Regions from separate parts of the Homo sapiens genome. Here region 1 is linked to region 2. Evidence: promoter capture Hi-C in human tissues and cell types (Jung and others, 2019). All regions are on one chromosome and are shown on one strand. The core of a region is centred on a gene start or on the middle of the fragment in contact, and the rest is flanking DNA. Distances in the headings are between cores, read along the strand shown.

Region 1 (5,452 bases), core at 1,885-4,384, 800 kb after region 2:
GAAGTGTGAGCAAAAGTCCACCTGCATCAGTCTTACTTGGGGTGATTGCTCAAAATGAGGATTTAATGGCTGCACCTCCGAGCAAGTTGGTAATTTACATATCGGAATGCTATCCATCAAGGAAAATGGGCAGACTACAGTTACATGCATCAACACAGACAAGCTTCAAACAATATTGAGTGTAAAAAGCAAGACATAGAAATATATATTTAGTAAGAGTAAAAATACAGTAAAGGTAAAAAAGAGGCAAAACTAAACAATATATTGCTTAAGCAATAAGGATACACAAACTAATGAAAATCAAAGGATTTACTAATACAAACTTCAGTATAGTAATTAATTGGAATGGGAGAGAAAGATGCAAAGTTTCTATTTCTTTTTTTGTTTTGTTTTGAGACAGTGTCTCATTCTGTTGCCAAGGCAGGAGTGCAGTGGCAGGATCTCAGATCACTGCAAGCTCAGCCTCCTGGGTTCAAGTGGTTCTTCTGCCTCAGCCTCCCAAGTAGCTGGGATTACAAGCATGCACCACCACACCCAGCTAATTTTTGTAATTTTAGTAGAGATGGAGTTTCACCATGTTGGCCAGGCTGGTCTCGAACTCCTGGTCTTAAGTAATCCGCCCACCTCTGCCATCAAAGTTTCTGTTTCTTAAGTTGGCTGCCGAGTACACAGGTTTTCTTTGTAAAATAATTATTTAAATTGTTAATATGCATTACTTATATGCTTTTCATTTACAATGTATTTCACAAGAAAAATAAAACAAAGCAAATAAGAAAACAGAACACTTCTCCAGAGATTGATCTTTTTCACTCAAATCTCATTGAGTTATACTGAGGGGGAAAAAGAGTAATCTGAGTGCCTGGGCCCTGAACAGACACACTAGATCAGTTCCTTCATTCCCACTCAAACACATGCACACACACGCACAAACACACATTTTCTTATATTTCCTTCAGCAAACCCCCCGCCCCACCAACCAACCCCAAAACACCCTCTGCTCCTTTATGTATATAAATTAGAGCAGATAAATGTCCAGAAGATTATAGGCCATCTTTCTATAAACAGCCAATCTTGGACCTGGTGTCTGAATGGGGGATGCCCTGCTGCATTAAAGATGCTCATGTGAACATTTTGTTGTTTCCCAGAAAAAAAGTTTCCACATTTTAGATTATTTTCACAGGGTGAGAACAATTTTACACCTCCCTTACTTGCTGCAGAATCTTTTTTTTTTTTTTTTTTTTTTTTTTGAGACAGGTCTTGCTCTATCACTCAAGCTGGAGTGCAGTGGCACGATCTCGGCTCACTGCAACCTCCGCCTCCCAGGTTCAAGCAATTCTTCTGCCTCAGCCTCTCGAGTAGCTGGGATTACAGGTGCGCACCACCATGCCCAGCTAATTTTTTGTATTTTTAGTAGAGATGGGGTTTCACCATGATGGCCAAGCTGGTTTCAAACTCCTGACCACAAGTGATCCGCCCACTTCGGCCTCCCAAAGGGCTAGGATTACAGGTGTGAGCCACCACGCCTGGCTGCTGTGGAATCATTTTTAAAGTGATTGTATCAATTTACAGTGTTCCGAACAGTAAATGGCTACTAGTCTCATCACACCCTCATCTTTAAAAAAGTTTTGCTAATTTAATAGACATGATTCTTACATATTGTCTTAATTTGCATTTCTTTGCTTACCAGTGAGGTTGAACATTTTTTTCTATGTTAGAATCTTTCTTGTATTTCTTCTGTTGTTTTCATTAGAGTAACTCAGAGCAGGATTGGGAATCTGAAAACATGAACATTTGATTTTGAGGAAGTCATTGTTTTCCTGTTGTCTTCCTTCCCCCTCTCTGCTTTATTATTTTTTACTTCAGGTTCATTTATAGAAATATCAGAAAATACAATTAAGCAAACAGAGTAAATTCCACTTCCCAGAGATAACCACTACCGTTTGTTGTATATCCTTTTAAGCTTTTTCTCTGCCAAAAATATTCACAAATATATCGCTTATTCTTTCTGAGCCTGTTTCCTCATCTATCAAATGGAATACTTGTTCTTCAAGTTGATAATTAACTGGTGGGAGCACATGAAAGTATTTTATAAAGTGCACAAATGCAAGTTGCTGCTCTTATGACAAAGAAAAAATGTATTTTATTCTGCCAAGCAGAATGATGACACTTTGTTTCCTGAACACAGCCTGCTCTCTCCAGTACAATTTCTTCTCTCTAGAATAGCTTCTTGCTTCAATTCCTCCTGCTGAACTACTATCTACTCTTTTTTTAAAAAAATCAATATTAAAATATACAAAAATTAGTGTAAAGAGCAACCACGTACCCACTATACAGCTTAGGAAAAGAGTCTGGCATTTCTCACTCCTATGCCTTTATATATACTTGCTTTATTTCCTGTCTCTCTATATATACATACATATATATTTAGTAAGAGCAAAAATACAGTAAAGATCAGGGAAGGTGCGGTGGCTCACGCCTGTAATCCCAGCACTTTGGGAGGCCGAGGCGGGCAGATCACGAGGTCAGGAGTTTGAGATCAGCTTGACCAACATGGTGAAACCATGTCTCTACTAAAAATACAAAAATTAGCCAGGCGTGGTGGCTCATGCGTGTAGTCCCAGCTATTCAGGAGGCTGAAGCAGAAAAATCCCCTGAACCTGGGAGGTGGAGGTTGCCGTGAGCCAAGATTGTGCCACTCACTCCAGCCTGGGCGACAGAGTGAGACTCCATCTCGGGGAAAAAAAAAAATACAGTAAAGGTAAAAAACAGGCAAAACTAAATATATTGCTTAAGCAATAATGATACTCATACAAACTAATGAAAATCAAAGGATTTACTAATACAAATTTATAGTAGTTAATTGGAAGCATATGTATTATATAAATATACATGTATTATACATATATGTATATATGTATATATATAGAAAAAAGCAAATATATGTATATATACATATATATCTATATATGTAAAATTTTTATTTATAAAATGTTTTTGAGCATGAAATGATATATCATTGTGGTGTTAATATGCGTCTTAGCTGGGCATAGTAGGTCACACCTGTAATCCCAACATTTTGGGAGGCTGAGGCAGGAGGATTTCTTGAGCTCAGGAGTTCAAGACCAGCCTGGACAGCATAGTGAGACCCCATCTCTAAAAAAAAAAATAAAAATTATCTGGCGTGGTGGCTGATGTCTGTAGTTCCAGCTACTCAGGAGGCTGAGGTGGGAGGATCACCTGAGCACTGGAGGTCAAGGCTGCAGTGAGCTATGATCATGCCACTGCACTCCAGCCTGGATGACAGAGCCAGATCCTGTTTCAAATAAATAAATTAAATTAAGTTAAAAAGTATCTCCCTGATTAGTGGGGAAGTTACCCAACTTTTTTTTTTTTTTTTTAGACAGAGTCTCAGTCTGTCTCCCAGGCTGGCATGCAGTGGCACGATCTTGTCTCACCGCAACCTCCACCTCCTGGGTTCAAGCAATTCTCCTGCCTCAGTCTCCCGAGTAGCTAGGATTACAGGCATGTGCCACCATACCCGGCTAATTTTTTGTATTTAGTCGAGATGGGGTTTCGCCATGTTGGGCAGACTGGTCTCGAACTCCCGACCTCAGGTGATCCTCCCACCTGGGCCTCCCAAAGTACTGGGATTACAGGCGTGTGCCACCGTGCCCAGCAGTTACACAACTTTTACAAGTTTATTGTTGTTCATGTTGCCTCTTCAGGGAATTTTGTTTATAAAGTACCTATTCTTCAAGGCCCCATTAAAACACCTCCCTCTCCATAAAGTATTTCCAGATCTCCTCTATCAAGCAGATAGGATTTCCTTTGGACTTCTATAATCCTTTCTTTCTACATCTTGGGTTTCACTCACTTCTTATTTCATCTTGCATTACAGTCACTTGTGTACTTGTCTAAAGGGCAGTGACTATGTTTAACTCAACTTTATGCCCTTGTTCATACTAGTACAAAAGTAAACATTTCATAAATCTTTGTTGAATCAAATCCTACTCCTCCCCTGCTTATAAAATCTTAAATCATTTCCTATTGTCTACAGACGAAAGTAGAATCTCGTTTAATGTAGAATTTAAGACCCTTCCACGGGCTCTAGCATCAACCTTCCTTTCTTGCTCTTCTCCTGGGAGGACCTTGCTTTCCGCCCCAGATACTAGATTCTTCATCCACAGTAAGGTCCCAGTCCACTAATGTTTGGCTTTTCTCTCTGTAGCTGGGATGGCAGGTTGGTCCCACCCATTTTAGTTGCCTATAAAATTCTTTTTTTTTTTTTTTTGAGATGGAGTCTTGCTCTGTTGCCCAGGCTGGTATGCAGTGGCATGATCTTGGCTCACTGCAACCTCCGCCTCCTGTATTCAGGCAATTCTCCTGCCTCAGCCTCCCGAGTAGCTGGGATTATAGGCAACTGCCACCATGCCCGGCTAATTTTTGTATTTTTAGAAGAGACGGGGTTTCACCATGTTGGCCAGGCTGGTCTCGAACTCCTGACCTCAGATGATCCGCCCTCCTCGGCCTCCCAAAGTGCTGGGATTACAGGCGTGAGCCACCGCGCCCGGTCTGAGCCACCGCGCCCGGTCTGAGCCACCACACCCGGTCTAATTTTTGTATTTTTAGTAGAGGTGGGGTTTCACCATTTTGGCCAGGCTGGTTTTGAACTCCTGACCTCGTGATCTGCCCGCCTCGGCCTCCCAAAGTGCTGGGATTACAGGCTTGAGCCACTGCGTCCAGCCCAAACTCTTTAAGAGAAAATCTCTTGGGATCTTGAAGCCAGAAGCTTGCTTTTATTACTGAGTTTGCCCTGAATCTGTCACTTATGTACTAAAAATACATAAATTTCCTTATCCAGGTGACTTGGGCTCAACTGAAGGAAACCTGAAGCATCTAAATGTTAGCACCTAAGCCTGAGTCTAGGTGCCAGCATAGCCTGTCTTCCCTCTCCAGAGTCAGAGGCATGTTACAAACAGAATATATGGACACACGTCGAACCCCACATTGTATCTCTCTAATTTATTCAATTTAATTCAGTAAACACTCATTACCTCTTATATCCAGGCCTAGTTGAGGGTGCTGGGGATACAGGTATAAACATGACAGTTCTCTTGAGGAGCACAGAGTGGTTGTGGGAAACAGACATACAGACACACAGTTTCTTTCTTTCTTTTTTCTTTTTTTTTTTTTTTTTGAGACAGAGTCTCACTCTGTCCTTCAGGCCGGAATGCAGTGAGGTGATCTCAGCTCACCACAACCTCCACCTCCTGGGTTCAAGCGATTCTCCTGCCTCTGACTCCCCAGTAGCTGGGATTACAGTAATGCGCCACCACACCCACCTAATTTTTGTATTTTTAGTAGAGACAGGCTTTTGCCATGTTGGCCAGGCTGGTCTCAAACTCCTGAACTCAGGTGATCCGCCTGCCTCGGCCTCCCAAAGTGCTGGGAT
Region 2 (4,882 bases), core at 1,052-3,551:
GGCGCCTGTAGTCCCAGCTACTTGGGAGGCTGAGGCAGGAGAATGGCGGGAACCCAGGAGGTGGAGCTTGCAGTGAGCCAAGATCGCGCCACCGCACTCCAGCCTGGACGACAGAGCGAGACTCCATCTCAAAAAAAAAAAAAAAAAAGATATGTTAAGGTCCTCCTATCCCCCAGCATCCCCCAGAATGTGATCTTATTTGAAAATAGGGTCTTGTAGAAGTAAGCAAGTTAAAATAAAGTCATTAGGGTGGGCCCTAATCCAACATGACTGGTGTCCTTATAAAAGGGAAGTTTGGACACAGAGACAGCCATGCACAGAGGGAAGATGACGGGAAGACACACAGGAAGAACACCAAGAATTGCCAGCAAACATCAGAAACTAGAAGAGTCAAAGGATGATTCTCCCCTAGAGCCATGGGGGCTGGAGGGGAGCAAGTGCATGCCAACACTTTGATTTTGGACATCAAGCCTTCAGAACTGTGAGGCAATTTTTGGGTTTGATCCTTTGTTATGGCAGGCAGCCCTAGAAAACTCAACCAAAAGAGAAAATTGTTGTACATGAGGCAGTAATTGCTGAGGACTTTGATTGGAGAAGCCAAGGCACATAAAGGAAGTTGTAGCCAAAGCATATAAAGGAAGTTGTTCTGTTTCCAGGTGGAAACAGAATTACTTAGCAAGCAGAATTCAATGGTGTGGAGTATTGGATCAATCTCCCTAAACACATATTCAGGTAACCGACCTTCATTTTTTGTCCCCTTCTTCTTTCCAAATACCATATTCCACTGATCCTAGAGGCACATCTCACATCTCTGAAATCAGCCTGTTCACTGGTGTCCAGCAAGAGGAAGTGTAAAAAAGTTTCAAAAAAAATCACATGGAGAGACCATCACAGACAACTTCCGGTACACAATATTATATTAACAGTTTAAAAATATGCATATAAATGCATTTCTATCTATATATAACTTCTATCTATGATTATCTATCTATATATAATTCCTTTTTTTTTTGTTTTGTTTTTTTTTTTTTAGTAGAGACAGGGTTTCACTGTGTTAGCCAGGATGGTCTCGATCTCCTGACCTGGTGATTCGCCCGCCTCGGCCTCCCAAAGTGCTGGGATTACAGGCGTGAGCCACCGTGCCCGGCCTATCTATATATAATTCTATGTATTCTATCTATATAGCGATATATAATTTCTATCTGTAATGCAAATCTACATGTGATTTCTATCTATATATACATGTAGATAGAAAATTTAGGGAATTCACTGCAGGTGCTGCTTGCAGTCCACTTTTAAAACCTAACATTACATAATAAAACACTATTTTAAGAAGCTGCACTAGGCCGGGCTTGGTGGCTCACGCCTGTAATCCCAGCACTTTGGGAGGCCAAGTCGGGTGGATCACAAGGTCAGGAGTTTGAGACCAGCCTGGCCAACATGGTGAAACTCCGTCTTTACTAAAAATACAAAAATTAGTCTGGGGTGGTGGCGTGCGCCTGTAGTCCTATTCAGGAGGCTGAGGCAGGAGGATCGCTTGAACCCGGGAGGTGGAGGTTGCAGTGAGCCAAGATCGTGTCAATGCACTCCAGCCTAGGAGACAGAGCGAGACTCCGTTTCAAAAAAAAAAAAAAAAAAAAAAAAAAAAAAAAAGGAGCTGCACGATGCTCCCCTTGGGCGTGTACCATACCTTATTTAACCATTCCCAAACTGTTTCCATTTTTTCTGATGTTAAATAAACTCTAAGATGTACAGACGTCTTTTATCTGGCTCTCCGATTACCTTCTGCAGATAAACTCCTAGAAGTTACTGGGGCAAAGGGAGTGAACCTTTAATTTTTAATAAAATTTTTTAAATTACAGAAAAAGCCGTAGTCGTCAGATTCTACTTCCTAGGCGGTCCACAGGGATTTCAACAAGTTCGATTCAAACCATCCCAAATTCCCTCCCGGCACTAAGTTTTCCTCGGTCTTGGGAAACGTGGCCCCGCAGTCCGCACTCACGACTGCGCACAAACGCTGGCCTCTTTCCAATGGCGAAACTTCTCGACACGCCCCCGAGGCACCACCTCTTTAAAATTTAAAACGAAGGCCCAGGCCAATGAATGCTAAGCTTCTCTCGGACCACAGAGACCCGCCCACCGTCACTCCCTCCACCAATCAGACTGAAGTTTTCTCCACTGCCCCTCCAATCACCGCCAAAAATGGAAGTTGCTCTCGTAACTTACGTAAGGCAAGCAGCCAATAGGAGCAAACCTTGGAAACTAGCTCCCCCAATAGCAGCAGTTCCTGGAGAGCGCGGGAGCCTTTCGACCAGGGTCCCAAAGGAAAGCAGTGAGTGGTGCTGTTTCCCTGAAGGAAGGGACTAAGGGACGGTGGCGCGGGCCCGGACCGGGGCCCCGGGGCGGCGGCACGGCCGATATGGCATGCTGTCACAAAGTAATGCTGCTGCTGGACACCGCGGGCGGCGCCGCCCGCCACAGCCGGGTCCGGCGGGCCGCCCTGCGCCTCCTCACCTATCTGAGTTGCCGATTCGGCCTGGCCAGGGTCCACTGGGCCTTCAAGTTCTTTGACTCGCAGGGGGCGCGGAGCCGGCCGTCCCGCGTGTCTGACTTCCGCGAGCTGGGGTCCCGCTCGTGGGAGGACTTTGAGGAGGAGCTGGAGGCCAGGCTCGAGGATCGCGCCCACCTGCCCGGCCCGGCGCCCAGGGCCACCCACACGCACGGCGCCCTGATGGAGACGCTGCTAGACTACCAGTGGGACCGGCCCGAGATCACGTCGCCCACGAAGCCGATCCTGCGGAGCAGCGGGAGGAGACTGCTGGACGTGGAGAGCGAGGCCAAGGAGGCCGAGGCCGCGCTCGGGGGCTTGGTGAACGCCGTCTTCCTCCTGGCCCCCTGTCCGCACTCGCAGAGGGAGCTGCTGCAGTTCGTGTCTGGGTGCGAGGCCCAGGCCCAGCGCCTGCCGCCCACCCCTAAGCAGGTGATGGAGAAGTTGTTGCCCAAGAGAGTCCGGGAAGTCATGGTCGCCCGAAAAATCACCTTCTACTGGGTGGATACCACCGAATGGTCTAAGGTAAGGAAGGTTACTGTCGTCTCAGATGGCGTGCACGGTGCTTTCCTTGCTAACCAGAACTTGGCAGCGTCCTTAGAACAGCCACAGACCCCGAATGAGACTAATATGACTATGCGTCCCTTCGGAAGGAAACAAATAAATAGGAACAGTTTTCACAACAAAATGGGTAGTTCCTCACTACCTACTGTTTAAGACCCCTCACAATTTGGGCCCTACCTGCCTTCCCAGACTTGATTTTCCTACACACTACATCTACTCTAGCATATTGAAGTCCAGTCCAGAAAATCAACAGGTCTGGACTGCTTGTTTTGTGTTATGTGTGTTGTTCAATCTGCCTGGAATGCCAGTTCTCACTCTTCCAGGCCAGTCTTAACTTCACTTACCCTTTAAGGCTTCTTCTCCCAGTGACAACTGCTCAGTCCAGCGTCTGAATTGCCATACACATTTTGTGTGGCACTTAACCATTTCTCCATATGTTTTGATTATGCACATCTCTCACCCTCCATCTAGTCTAAAAATACCTCAGAGGCAAGCAGCAGGTTTTAACACAATACCCAGGGGTGTGTGTGTATGTGTGTGTGTATATATATATATATATATATATATATATATATATATATACACACACACACATATATATACACATTTATTTATATACATATATATATTTATTTATTATTATTTTTTGAGACAGTGTATGTCGCCCAGGCTGGAATGCAGTGGCTCACTGCAACCTCCACCCCTCCGGGTTCAAGCGATTCTCATGCCTCAGCCTCCCAAGTAGCTGAGACTACAGGCCCACGCCACCATGCCTGGCTAATTTTTTTGTATTTTCAGTGGAGACCAGGTTCCATGCTGCCCAGGCTGGTCTCAAACTCTGGCCTCAGGCAATCCGCCTGCCTTGGCCTCCCGAAGTGCCAGGATTATAGGTGTGAGCCACCACGCCCAGCCACCCAGATGTGTATTAAACGTTGTAGGTGTTCAGTCAGTATTGGCTGACTAAATGAGTACATTCTTGCGTACATTCTTGCAAACTTAAAGTCTTAAATGGCTAATTTGGATTTTTGCTGAGGCGGTGAGGCCCCCTGCTCCTGTTAAGTGCTAGGATAAGTATATACTTTTGCCTTCATCCTTCTCATTGCACTTCATTTAGTCAACAAATGTTCATTGAGAAGCCAGTAACATCTGAGTGCCTACCACACTGTTTGAGCTGCTGGGGACATGGTAACCAAAGCAGGGAACAGATTAAACAGATAAGCAAGTGACAATTTCAAATCATGCTCTGGAGAAAATAAAATGGGGTGAGAGGATGGGAGTAGAAGGTGGTTATTGTATACAGAGTGGTAGTGAGGGAAGGCCTTTTTTTTTTTTTTTTTTTTTTTTTTTGAGACAGAGTCTCGCTTTGTCACCCAGGCTGGAGTGCAGTGGCGTGATCTCGGCTCACTGCAACCTTCACCTCCTGGGTTCAAGCAATTCTCCTGCCTCAGCCTCCCAAGTAGCTGGGATTATAAGCGGGCGCCACCAGGCCTGGCTAATTTTTTTGTATTTTTAGTAGAGACGGAGTTTCACCATGCTACCCACCCTGGTCTCAAACTCCTGAGCTCAGGCAGTCCGCCAACCTCAGCCTCCCAAAGTGCTAGGATTACAGGCATGAGCCACCGTGCCTGGCAGGGAAGGCCTTTTTGAGCAGAGAATTGAATGGTGAAGGAGGAGGAACTCAAAGGTAGGTAAAGAACATTCCAGGTGAGGAGACAAGCAGGTGTAAGGATTTCAGCTGGAAATGAACTTAGTTTGTTTCAGAAACAAAAA

What was found. The method cuts DNA at HindIII sites, captures the fragments that hold promoters and counts their contacts. A contact is called where the count stands out against the background at its distance.
Region 1: a contact is called between a fragment that was not itself captured here and the fragment with the promoter of TICRR in region 2, in 1 of the 25 tissues and cell types used here (hippocampus).

Annotation. Positions count from the first base shown.
Region 1 is chr15:90,368,369-90,373,820 of GRCh38, forward strand. No RefSeq gene overlaps it. Among named protein-coding and RNA genes, the nearest start is that of IQGAP1, 17 kb to the right of the region's middle. The HindIII fragment of the contact is 4,146 bases long and covers 1,062-5,207 here.
Region 2 is chr15:89,573,168-89,578,049 of GRCh38, forward strand. TICRR (TOPBP1 interacting checkpoint and replication regulator) reads left to right here and starts at 2,302. Exons shown (of 22, transcript NM_152259.4): 1 at 2,302-3,073. The coding sequence starts at 2,420. RefSeq lists a silencer at 2,290-2,579 and an enhancer at 2,701-3,229. The HindIII fragment of the contact is 16,704 bases long and covers 1-4,882 here.